Linked DNA regions of Homo sapiens: region 2 is linked to region 1. Evidence: promoter capture Hi-C in 16 types of primary human blood cells and fetal thymus (Javierre and others, 2016). All regions are on one chromosome and are shown on one strand. Each heading gives the region's core, a stretch centred on a gene start or on the middle of the fragment in contact. The rest is flanking DNA. Distances are from core to core; before and after follow the strand shown. Region 1 holds the start of SNAPC1 (small nuclear RNA activating complex polypeptide 1). Region 2 holds the start of PPP1R36 (protein phosphatase 1 regulatory subunit 36).

What was found. Contacts are between HindIII fragments. The CHiCAGO score rates a contact against its expected background, and 5 or more counts as called.
Region 2: a contact is called between the fragment with the promoter of PPP1R36 here and the fragment with the promoter of SNAPC1 in region 1, in 1 of 17 cell types (neutrophils). The highest score is 5.7, in neutrophils.

Annotation. Positions count from the first base shown.
Region 1 is chr14:61,759,954-61,766,020 of GRCh38, forward strand. It overlaps SNAPC1 (small nuclear RNA activating complex polypeptide 1), which reads left to right and starts at 2,467. Exons shown (of 10, transcript NM_003082.4): 1 at 2,467-2,635. The coding sequence starts at 2,508. RefSeq lists enhancers at 461-1,205, 1,206-1,949, 1,793-1,882, 1,950-2,693, 2,694-3,437. The HindIII fragment of the contact is 7,963 bases long and covers 1-5,853 here.
Region 2 is chr14:64,546,835-64,552,419 of GRCh38, forward strand. It overlaps PPP1R36 (protein phosphatase 1 regulatory subunit 36), which reads left to right and starts at 3,127. Exons shown (of 12, transcript NM_172365.3): 1 at 3,127-3,232; 2 at 4,087-4,151. The coding sequence starts at 3,164. RefSeq lists a silencer at 2,993-3,282. The HindIII fragment of the contact is 10,629 bases long and covers 1-5,585 here.

The sequences.
Region 1 (6,067 bases), core at 1,217-3,716:
TCACCAGGCACGGAATCTGCCAGCACCTTGATCTTAGATTTCCCAGCCTCCCAGAACTGTGAGAAATAAATTTCTGTTGTTTGTAAGCTACCTATTCTATGGTATTTTGTTATAGCAGCAGAAATGAGCTAATACGTGGTCCAACAAAGACGTGTGCACCTCTTCCAGCGATTGAAACTATTGTTGGGGAGAGGTTGCCTAATTAGTGATGACGTTTCTCAGCCACCTTTGCACCTGAATGGGTCCATGTGACTGAGTTCTGGCCAATGGAATGTGGACTGAAATGGTGTATAACAGTGCTTCTCAAATTATCTGTTGTAATGAACCATTTCCCAAATGGTTCCCCCACTCTATCATGGGGGAAATAATGCATTTTGGCTCACTGCAACCTCTGCCTCCCAGGTTCAAGTGGTTCTCCTGCCCCAGCCTCCCAAGTAGCTGGGATTACAGGCACACGCCACTACGCCTAGCTAATTTTTGTGTTTTTATTAGAGACGGGGTTTCACTATTTTGGTCACGCTGGTCTCGAACTCTTGACCTGGTGATCCACCCACCTCAGCCTCCCAAATTGCTGGGATTACAGGCGTGAGCCACTGCGCCCAGCCAGTTGCAATACCATTTTCATAAAACTCAAAACCAACCACAACTAAAAAATATACCGTTTAAATATACATACATATGTGATAAAATATATACATGAGAAAGAGAAACAAAATTCAAGGTAGTTATTTATTTATTTTTTGAGATTCGGTCTCACTCCGTAGCCCAGGATGGAGTGCAGTGGCACGATCTCGGCTCACCACTGCAACCTCTGTCTCCTGTAACCACCATCTCCCAGGCTCAAATGATCCTCCCACCTCAGCCTCCCGAGTAGCTGGGACTACAGGTGTGCACCACCATGCCCGGCTAATTTTCACCATGTTTCCCAGGCTGGTCTCCAACTCTTGTGCTTAAGCAATCCTCTTGCTTTTGTCTCCCAAAGTGTTGGGATTTCAGGCGTGAGCCACCGTGCCCAACCAGTAGCTGTGATTAAAGTAGGGTACAGTCAAAGGAATAGGTCAGAGGAGGAAATCGCAGATTGATGTGAAGGCGTTGGTAATGTTCTGGTTCCTACACAGGTGAAAGGTGTACAGGTGTTTAACTGCTATGCTTTTTATCTCACACATCGCATAAATTTTTCTGTGACATAAAATATTACATAACATTTAAAAAACAGGTCAAGAGGGCAGGGTGCAGTGGCTCACGTCTGTAATCCCAACACTTTGGGAGGCCGAGGGGAGCGGATCACCTGAGGTTAGCAGTTCGAGACCAGCCTGGCCAACATGGTGAAACCCTGTCTCTACTAAAAATACAAACAAAACAAAACAAAACAAAATCCGGTTGGAGTGGTGCATGCCTGTAATCCCAGCTACTCGGGAGGCTGAGGCAGGAGAATCGCTTGAACTCGGGAGGCGGAAGTTGCAGTGAACCGAGACCGCGCCACTGAACTCCGGCCTGGGCAACAAGAGCGAAACTCCGTCTCAAAACAAAAAACAAACAAATCCAAACAAACAAACAAACAAACAAAAACAGGTCAAGGATCAGAAAAGTAAAGTGAGTTGACACTCCATTTACACACAGAAAGCCCAATGTTTTTCTATTATATCAGGATACCTCTTCTAAAGAATGATAGCTTACCTTTCAATCAGAGAAATGATCTAAAGTTCAAAATGTTACTCCATAGCTAGCTCCTGGAGGAAGGAAGCTAGGTGGCAGCGTGTACACAAAAAGGCAATTCATCCAAATAATAATATAACAAGAATATAACAAGTAGGTATTTTCTGCTAAGTGCTATGTAGCACAGGGGTGAATGCGTGGCAGGGCAGGAGGAGGGCTGTTTACAAGAGGGTATGAAATGCAGCTCTTCTTTTCAAGAGTGGTTGCAGAATGCCAGGGCTACAAAGAGAGGGCCGCACATTAAGCATCGTATTATGTGGGTACAGAGTATTAGGGTTCTCGATGACCAGAAGGAGAATGAGTGCAGTTTGTTTCCTAGCAAGCCTTCTTTAGCTTCTCTTCCCAAGTGGGAGTGGGGTTGGGGTTGGGACTGTTCTTTCCTAGCTCAAAAGTTCACTTATGTCACACTAGGGTCAGTTTAAAGGAGAGTGCTAGTAAGGGTAAAGTCAAGTTACATAACCTAGCGGAAAATGAAGACCTAAAACCGCTCGTGAGCAAACACAACACTTTAGACGTAAACCTCTTCCAAAGAAGGGTGGATCTCAGCACTCTGGGTGAAAGCAATCTCAGCCAGTAAAACATCAGAACGCTTTCACGCACGCGCAGTAAGCACACGACCGGTGGCAAGAGCCCGGATAAAGGCGGAGCTAAAGGTGCCGGATAATGCATCACGGAGCGCGTGTGCGCACGCCGTAGGGGGCGGGCCGTTCGGGCTTGGTTTCCTGGGCGACCACCGCTGGCTAGTCCGTTAGAGGCGTGCGGGCTTCGGAGGCGTGCGGGCTTCGGGTGCCATGGGGACTCCTCCCGGCCTGCAGACCGACTGCGAGGCGCTGCTCAGCCGCTTCCAGGAGACGGACAGTGTACGCTTCGAGGACTTCACGGAGCTCTGGAGAAACATGAAGTTCGGGACTATCTTCTGGTGGGTGTTTCTTGTCCACCACCCGCCTCTCCCTGCCCGCAGGTGGTGTAGAAAGTTGCCTCCTTCCCGGCGATATTGCACTTGTGAAGGGCTGAGAAGAGCGGCAGTCACCGAAGGTTGCCTCCATGACTCCTGGACCTTCCCCTGTGCTCAGGCAACGCGCTTTCCCTGCTCTATTTCATTGTGCCCTGATGGTTGTTGCGGCCTCCTCCCAAATATGCGTCTCTGCCTGGCCTCCCTTCTAAACTCCTCTCTCCCATCTCCACCCTGAGCCAGGCCACTATCATTTGCCCTTCCCCAGTCTTGTTCTAGGACCTGATGTTTAAAAACACACAAGCAAAGACAAAACCCTTCAAGATTGAATTAATTTTTCCTCCAACAACCAAAGTTGTCTTTTTTTTTTTTTTTTTTTTTTTTTTTGAGACGGAGTCTCCTTTTGTCGCCCAGGCTGGAGTGCAATGGCGCGTTCGCGGCTCAGTGCAACCCTTCGCCTCTCAGGTTCAAGTGATTCTCTTGCCTCAACCTCCGGAGTAGCTGGGATTACAGGTGCCCGGCACCACGCCCGGTTAATTTTTTGTATTTTTAGTAGAGACGGGGTTTTACTATGTTGGCCAGACTGGCCTCGAACTCCTGATCTCGTGACCCGCCCGCCTCGGCCTCCCAAAGCGCTAGGATTACAGGAGTGAGCCACCGCGCCCGGCCCAAAAGTTGTTTTTCAAAAGTGCAAATTTGATTATGTCACTCCCCGACTTATTACTCTGTAGTGGTGCCCATTGCCTTTGGGATAACGCTTGAATTCTCTGACTTGCCAAGACCATTCCTCACTGGCCTTTGCCTATCTCTCCAGCTTCGCCTGCCAGTCCCCTCCATGCACTCACTTTCTTGCTCCAGCAGCTGCTTTTTTTTTTTTTTTTTTTTCTTTGGGCCCTCTACAGGCTTTTCCTAATCCTGGAGTTTCCACCGCAACTCTCTTGTTTTGTCCACCTTATTCTTCACTCAGGGTTAAGCTCAAATGACATCCTCGGGGGAAGTCTTTTTTGCTCTTCTAGACTGAGTACGCTGTTCATGTTTTTTCCCCGCATAGCACCCTGTTTTTATTTTATGTCACCGCTTTCCACATTTTGTTGTAATGGTATAGTTGAAAAGGCAGTGTGGGATTGTTAAGGGCATAGGTTATGGAACCCAATTGGCTGCATTTGATTGCAGGGTCCGCTATGACTTGGGGCAAGTTACTTGAGTTTCCATATCTGTAAAATAGAGGCAATGATAAACCTCATAGTAGTTGTGAAGATTAAATGAGCTGATATATCAGAAATACATTCTAAGTGCTCAATAAATGTTCATTATTATTATTTTTTTTTCTTGAGACATAGTCTTGCTCTGTCACCCAGGCTGGAGTGTAATGGTGCGATCTCCTATCACTGCAACCTCCACCTCCCGGGTTCAAGAGATTCTCCTGCCTCAGCCTCCCGAGTAGCTGGGACTACGGCTTGTGCCACCAAGCCTGGCTAATTTTTGTATTTTTAGTAGAGACGGGATTTCACCATGTTGGCCAGGCTGGTCAAATGTTCATTATTACTACCGTTTTAAAATTTTCCTTTGACTAGACTGACCTCTGTGAGGACAGTGACTGGATGAATCTATTTTTATTACCATAGTACATATAATATTAAAAAGGCGAAATAACTGATTTTCTGAATGAGTTAAACCTTATGATTAAAACTTTTTCTGAACAAAATGTAAAAACTCATTTTCTCTCTGTCAGTGTAAGCAAATTACCTTTGTAGTTTTTTAAATTGCAAGGAATGGAGGATGAAGAGCTGTTTGTTGTACAGTTAATAAAAGGAGAGAGACTTTTTTTTTTAAATGGCTACTACATGCCATTTATTTATAGCTTTATTTATTGCATAAGACAGTTATAAAAAGCAGGTATAATTATCCTTGTTTTATAGATGAGGAAATTAAGGCTTAAAGAGGTTAAGTAATTTCTCCACCATTACAAAGATAGTGGATTGTAGAGCAGATGTTGGAAACTATGTATCTGCCTGTTTCTAAAATCCGTTAATATTCCACTGTACCACTTCTTGGGGGGAAAAATGCATTTAAGGAAAAAGCTAAAAATGTAACATTTACATTTTCTAGTAGGGAGAACCTAAAATGATAAAAGAAGCAGGAATCACTAGAGTGGTGGATTTTCTTGAGAAATTACTTTGGTTACCGTAACTAGAGTAGGCATTTTGTATTCTTTTCCTATATTTATTATTTGAAGACCCAAAATGTCCTCCTACTACCCCCTTCCCTTCCACCCCTGCATTGTAATCAGATATAATAGAGCCCGTGTTTATGGCTGCAGGGCAAATGTCTTTATTGTTTGTTGCTGGTTTTAAAGTAAAAGTTCTACATATTTATATTTGTATAGCGTATTAGTCACTCGCATCAACACTTTGAGACATTTATTTTAGCTAATGTTTTATTTAAAATCTGGCATTTTTTATCTACTAATTTCAGGTCTTACATAGAAACCTATAATATGCACAAATGTGGCTTCATTGTTTTATCCAAAGTGGTAAGAAGACTGTTACATTGACTTTTTTAAGGCCTTGTTTTTTAAAATTTTTTGTTAACTTAGCACAGCAGAACAGTTTCAGATAGTTTATTCATTATGCTGTTTATATCCACAGAAAATATATGTGAACCTCGAAAATTTGAGACACGTCTCAGTTAATTTAGAAAGGTTATTTTGCCAAGGTTGAGGACGCACCCGTGACACAGCCTCAGGAAGTCGTGTTGACATGCGCCCAAGGTGGTCAGGGCACAGCTTGGTTTTGTACATTTAGGGAGACATGAGACATCAATCAATATATGCAAGAAGTACGTTGGTTCGTTCTGGAAAGGCGGGACAACTTGAAGCAAAGGCAGGAAGACTGGAAGTGGGGAGGGAGCTTTCAGGTCACAGATTGGTGATACACAAATGCTTGCGTTCTTTTGAGTTTCTGATTAGCTTTTCCAAAGGAGGCAAATCAGATATGCATCTATCTCAGTGAGCCGAGAAGTCACTTTGAATAGAATGGGAGAGGTTTGCCCTAAGCAGTTTCCAGCTTGAGTTTTCCTTAGTGATCTTGGGTGCCCAAGATACTTTCCTTTCATGTACATTTCCTATGTTATTTCATTGATTGATTGCCAACAAAGCCTTGTTGCTCTCTTGGATGTTTGGACAAAGCTTTTGGTTGTATGCTGGAGTATGCTCTTCTCCCTTCCTCCTCCTTTCTTCTGATGAGCTTGCAGTGCTCTGGACAATTAGGAGTGCGGGTTACTTTGTGCTGTTTCTCTATCTTTTTCGCCTCGGCTTCGCAAGGACAGAGGAGATTTAGTGCAAATCCCTGAGAGTATTGGAGAAAATGTTCGTTAGGTAAAAAGTAAAGTAGAGGTTCT
Region 2 (5,585 bases), core at 1,877-4,376, 2.8 Mb after region 1:
TCTGTCGCCCAGGCTGGAGTGCAGTGGAGCAATCTCGGTTACTGCAACCTCCGCCTCCTGGGTTCACGCAATTCTCCCGCCTCAGCCTCCAGAGTTGCTGGAATTATAGGCACCCACCACCACGACTGGCTAATTTTTGTATTTTTAGTAGAGACGGAGTTTCACCATGTTGGCCAGGCTGGTCTTGAATTCCTGACCTCAGGTCATCAGCCCGCCTCGGCCTCCCAAAGTGCTGGGATTACAGGCCTGAGCCACCGCACCCGGCCTTGATGTAGCTTTTGAAATGGAAATATTTTAGGGTATATGCAGTTCTGAAATTTAATAGGGTGATGCTTAATGTTAAAATGTCTTTCCCTTAGAACATACCAAGATGTCATAGGCCCTTTCTTCCCCTTCTTTCAGTGTAGATTAGGTTGTCTGTGAATTGAAGGTTTAGTAAATAAGCAATCAAAAATGGAGCTGCTGGCGCGGTGGCTCACGCCTATAATCCCAGCACTTTGGGAGGCCGAAACGGGCAGATCACTTGAAGTCAGGAGTTCGAGACCAGCCTGGCCAACATGGTGAAACCCTGTCTCTACTAAAAATACAAAAATCAGCCAGGCATGGTGGCGTGCCCCTGTAGTCCCAGCTACTCAAGAGGCTGAGGTGGGAGAATCGCTTGAGCCCGGGAGGCGGAGGTTGCAGTGAGCGGAGATCGCACTACCGTATTCCAGCCCGGGCGACAGAGTGAGACCCTGTCTCAAAACAAAACAAATGAACAAACAAAAAAACAGGAGCTGCCATCTGCAGATGTATAGTGTCAGAAAAAAAAATAATTTTTCAAAAATGGAGTTGTTAATTCAAAATTTTGCATTGCTGTTTTCTTCTGTGGAAAGTTAATTTTTTAAGGTAGAATTACAACACTATAAAAACCTGTCCATTGGCCGGGCGCGGTGGCTCACGCCTGTAATCCCAGCACTTTGGGAGGCCGAGGCGGGCGGATCATGAGGTCAGTAGATCGAGACCATCCTGGCTAACACGGTGAAACCCCGTCTCTACTAAAAAATAAGCCGGGCGTGGTGGGGGCTCCTGTAGTCCCAGCTACTCAGGAGACTGAGGCAGAATGGCGTGAACCCGGGAGGCGGAGTTTGCAGTGAGCCGAGATCATGCCACTGCACTCCAGCCGGGGCGACAGAGCGAGACTCCGTCTCAAAACAAACAAACAAAAAAACAAACCTGTCCATTATCTTTTTTATAGAATTAGCATGAATTATATTCAGTTAATGTCTTGGACCTAAAATCTGGGACCAGCAATTTAGTTATATATTATATGCTCTTAGATAGTTATATGACCTTAAGTTTCTCTTAATTAGGAAAAAAAAAAATTCCCTCACAGGACACTTGGAGTTATCAAATATTTAGAAGTTACCTTCATCCCTACTAAATATCATCAATTGTGTTTATTCTTCTTTACAGGGACAATCATATTTCCAGTTTTGGTTGTGAGTTTCTAATGTCATTTAAAAAGAAACCTAACTGGTGAAAAATGTACCTTAGGAAATCGGTGGGTCACTTTTTAAAATAAGTACTGTAATGATTAAGAGATGTAAAAACAATCTTTTCTTCCTCCTTTTGTTTGGGGTAAAGTGATAGAGAAGTATAAGATTGTCCCTTCAGAGTTACTGAAACTTTCCTTTAAATATTATGTCCCTCTATCACATGCGAAATAACTTCTCCTTTAATTTTTAAGTAGTTATTGTTTTGGGCTCTCAACTTTTATTTTTACCTAAGTTTTGTACATTAGACAGCCTAAGTTTATTCTGTGATAAGATATATAGATCTTAAGTTTTCTATCAGCACTTCTCCACACATTATTGGGATGAACTGAAGAGGTTTACTGACCACTAGTGTGGTCTTCCCGGTAATGATTATGTAGTGATTGGATGCCATCCAGATTCCTTGGTCTGTCTGCATCTTTTCTTGAGCTTTACCTCATTATTTCCCTGTCCTGTCCACCCCAAGTTATGTTCGCTACTTGGTGAAAAGCTCTTGGCATATGGGATAGTCTCCTTTTCAAGCGTGTCATCTTGTAGTAAGAAAGCCTTGCCTGCGGCCAGTATATAAGTGGGTTTCCATATACCTGGACCAACTGAACAGCTGCCAGAATGGACTCAAGTGAGCAGAACATGAATCTAGATGATTACTATTTAATCACTGTAGCCAGTGATTGTGTATTACCAAGTAGTGAGACTGGGAGGGTGGGAATAGAAGAAGCAGTGGGATGACTACTGACATAACTTAAAAGTTAATGGGAGTATATATCCACTACTTATGAGCCTCTCATACCAATTAAGCTGTGGTGATACAAAAGAATATACTAGGCATTCCCAATCATGTTGCATCATCTAGCATTGCTCACTTAGAGCTGGGAGGAAAAAAATCAGCCAGAATCAGCATTATCAACTCCGTTGCAAGAAGGAATTACAAGACACATGATTTGAAAAGTGTAAATGTAAAAATATCAATTGAATACCCATTGACACTAAGCAAGTTTCTTTGTTTTTGAGCAACACTAATTTTGAGTACTTAAGACTGGTGCTTTACACACACCACTCCAAAAATCCACATAACCCCTGATTTGGTGTTTTCAGAAGAAAGATCAGAATAGTCTTGTCCTAGATTCCACAGCTTGTTAAGCAGCACAACTGTTATGAAAACCTTATTTCCGTACCCATGTTCTCTTCCACGAGGCTACCCTGCTTCCCCACCTCAACCCTGCTCTCCCCATCAACCTAGGTTCATCCTGGATTTGAACTTAATAATAGTGCTAATCATGAAAGTTAGGAAGAAATGGATCTTTCTTCCCTATAGGACTGAATGTAGTTACTCCAATTAAAACAGTAAAGTGAATAACTTCATGAAGTTCAAGGTTGGAATGCCATGAAGAATTATGCCCTGGGCGGCTTTACAATGGATAGGCCAATACGTCGCCACGGCTTTTAAGACTGGGAAACGGGGCACCAGGCTGGGCTTTAGAAATCGCTGGAGAAGCCTGGGTGCGGCCGCAGCCCGCGCGGCCTAGGACGGAAGCGACGCCCCGCCCCGCTCCGCGCCCCGGGCAGCCGTGTGCAGGCGCCTGCGGGCGGTATCCTCGGCGACGCCGTATGGCTTCCAGGGCGAGGCCATGTACCGGGTGCCCGAGTTTTATGCGAGGAGGAAGCGGTTAGGTGGGCAGACCCCTTACTTGATGGATGTAAGTGCAGCCTTGGTCGCCCCCATACCCGGGCTGGGCGCAAGGCGGGCCCTGCTGCCCCCAACCGGCGCCGCGCCCCTCGCCCTCCTCCAGAGGCGGGTCGTCGCCTTCGCCCCGGGCTGGCGGTTCTCAAAGACACCTGGCCATATTTGCCTAGAAAAAAAAAAAACTCTGGTGTATTTGACAGATGGTCAGAATTGAATTCTGGCTCCCTGCGCAGGTAGTTAGATATTTACGAAATCCCACCTCACCACCTCTAATTGGTTGGTTGCAAAATAGGGAGACCTACTGCGGGGGAAGCAGCCCCGCTCTGGATAGAAAGGCTGGTGGGTGCTAGCTTCCACGGTGAAAAGGGTGTACTTAACTTTTTGCCACTGCCTGTAAAGGGCAGGCTCAGTGTTGGAGCCCGGAAGTCTCCAGAACCAGACAGCTGAGGCTGTCCTGGGTATCAGTTTATTGTCTGAATTTCAATTAATTGGTAGATTGCTATGATGAGCTATATGTAGTCCCAATTTCCTTCCTATCTTTCGCCCTTCCCTTCCTCCGCTGCTTCTTTCCTCTTTTCCTACTTTCCTCCCTTCCTTTCTCCCTCTCCCTCCTTCCTGCCGTTCTACTGAAGCCACACCTAAAATCAATCAAAGCGATAAAATCCTAGCTTCAAGTTTAACGCTTTAGGATTCTACACTCTTACTGAAAGTGTAAAGAGGGACTAGTAGGAACCATTGTTTTTTGTTTCCTTCTTATTACTTAAAAGATGTGTTAGTAAGTAGGAATTATTGTTAAAGGTTTATTGTGGCATATGGATTGTAAATTGAGCTTTTAATTATTTTTGCTGCAATCATTTCGTTTTACAGCAGTTGGGATTACGATTAGGGATGTGGTACTGGAAAGATGAAACCAGAACTCTTGAATTCAGAAGGTAAAATTTAACAACACTTTATTAGAGTTTTTATAAAAATTACATGTGCCTGGGGGAAAAAAAAGCAACAGAAGAGTATAGAGAATAAATACCCACTGAACCTTTGCCATCTGGAAGGAAACAATCATTTCAGTGAACAGCCTTTCTCTGAACGCTTACCAGCTGCTTCACATGGACCAGACACTGTGCTAATGTTTACCAACTCTTTGAAACAGCTGCATGTTAACCAATTTACAGATGAAGAAACTGAGGTTTCAAAGGGTTCAGCGACTTGAGGAAAATTAAGTGACTTAGCCCAATCACACAGCTCAGAGGTGACTAAGATTATTTAAATGTAGGTCTGTTTGATTTACAGAGTCCATGTTTTTAATTATAAAATTGCCTTTTTGAGTTAGAGAAATATAGTTAACATTAATGGGAACATATTATATCTGCTGCAATAGATGGTGAATCTCACAAGGTAAAATTACTAAATTAGAAAAAACTGATTCTAATCTCTATGAAAAAAGACACTGACTCTTACAAGTGTATAGCTAAATTAATACTAGACACTATCTGTTGTGCACTGATTGTGTGCCAGATATTTGCATATTTTTCCAATTCTTAAAACAACTGTGGAAAGTGAACATTAATGTCCTCATTTTATAGATGAAGAAACAAGGCTCAGGGAGATTAAGCAACTGAACCAAAGTCATACAGCCAGTAAGTAGCAGAACTGATAGTTTGAACCAAGATTTGTCTAATGCTAAAGCCCTTTTCATGTACTCGCTGTCTCCCTCAACTAGACAGTAAGCTCCTCAGTGGCAGGAACTATCTTATTCATCCTCAGGTCTCTGGAGCCAGCTACAGAACTTCTTCAGTAGGTACTCAACAAATATTTATTGAGCATGTTCAAAGAATCTGCTAGATTCAAGCAGAGGAAGAATAGATGCAGGTGATCCATTAGAAGACTAGTTGTAGGATTACAGATAATTATACAAGTAAGCAATAGCGAGAGTTAGAATTAACTCCAGGTTGGTAAAAATAGAAAGGCAAAGGACTAAGAAATACTTAAGAGAGGATTGACAGGATGTTTGGATAGGATTGATAGGATGTGGGGATTGGATGTGAAGGGAGAGGGAAAAGCAGTTGTTTAGATTGGCTCCTAGGTGTCTGACTTGGGTGATCAGGTGGCTGGGATTGCCCTTCACCCATATACAGCATTGAAGTGACAAAACTGGTGGCTGGGTGTGGTGGCTCAAGCCTGTAATCCCAGCACTTTGGGAGGCTGAGGCGGGCAGATCACCTGAGGTCGGGAGTTTGAGACCAGCCTGGCCAACATGGTGAAATCCTATCTCTAATAAAAATACAAAAATTAGCCGGGCGTGATGGCGGGCACCTGTAATCCCAGCTACTTGGGAGGCTGAGACAGGAGAATTGCTGGAATCTGGAAAG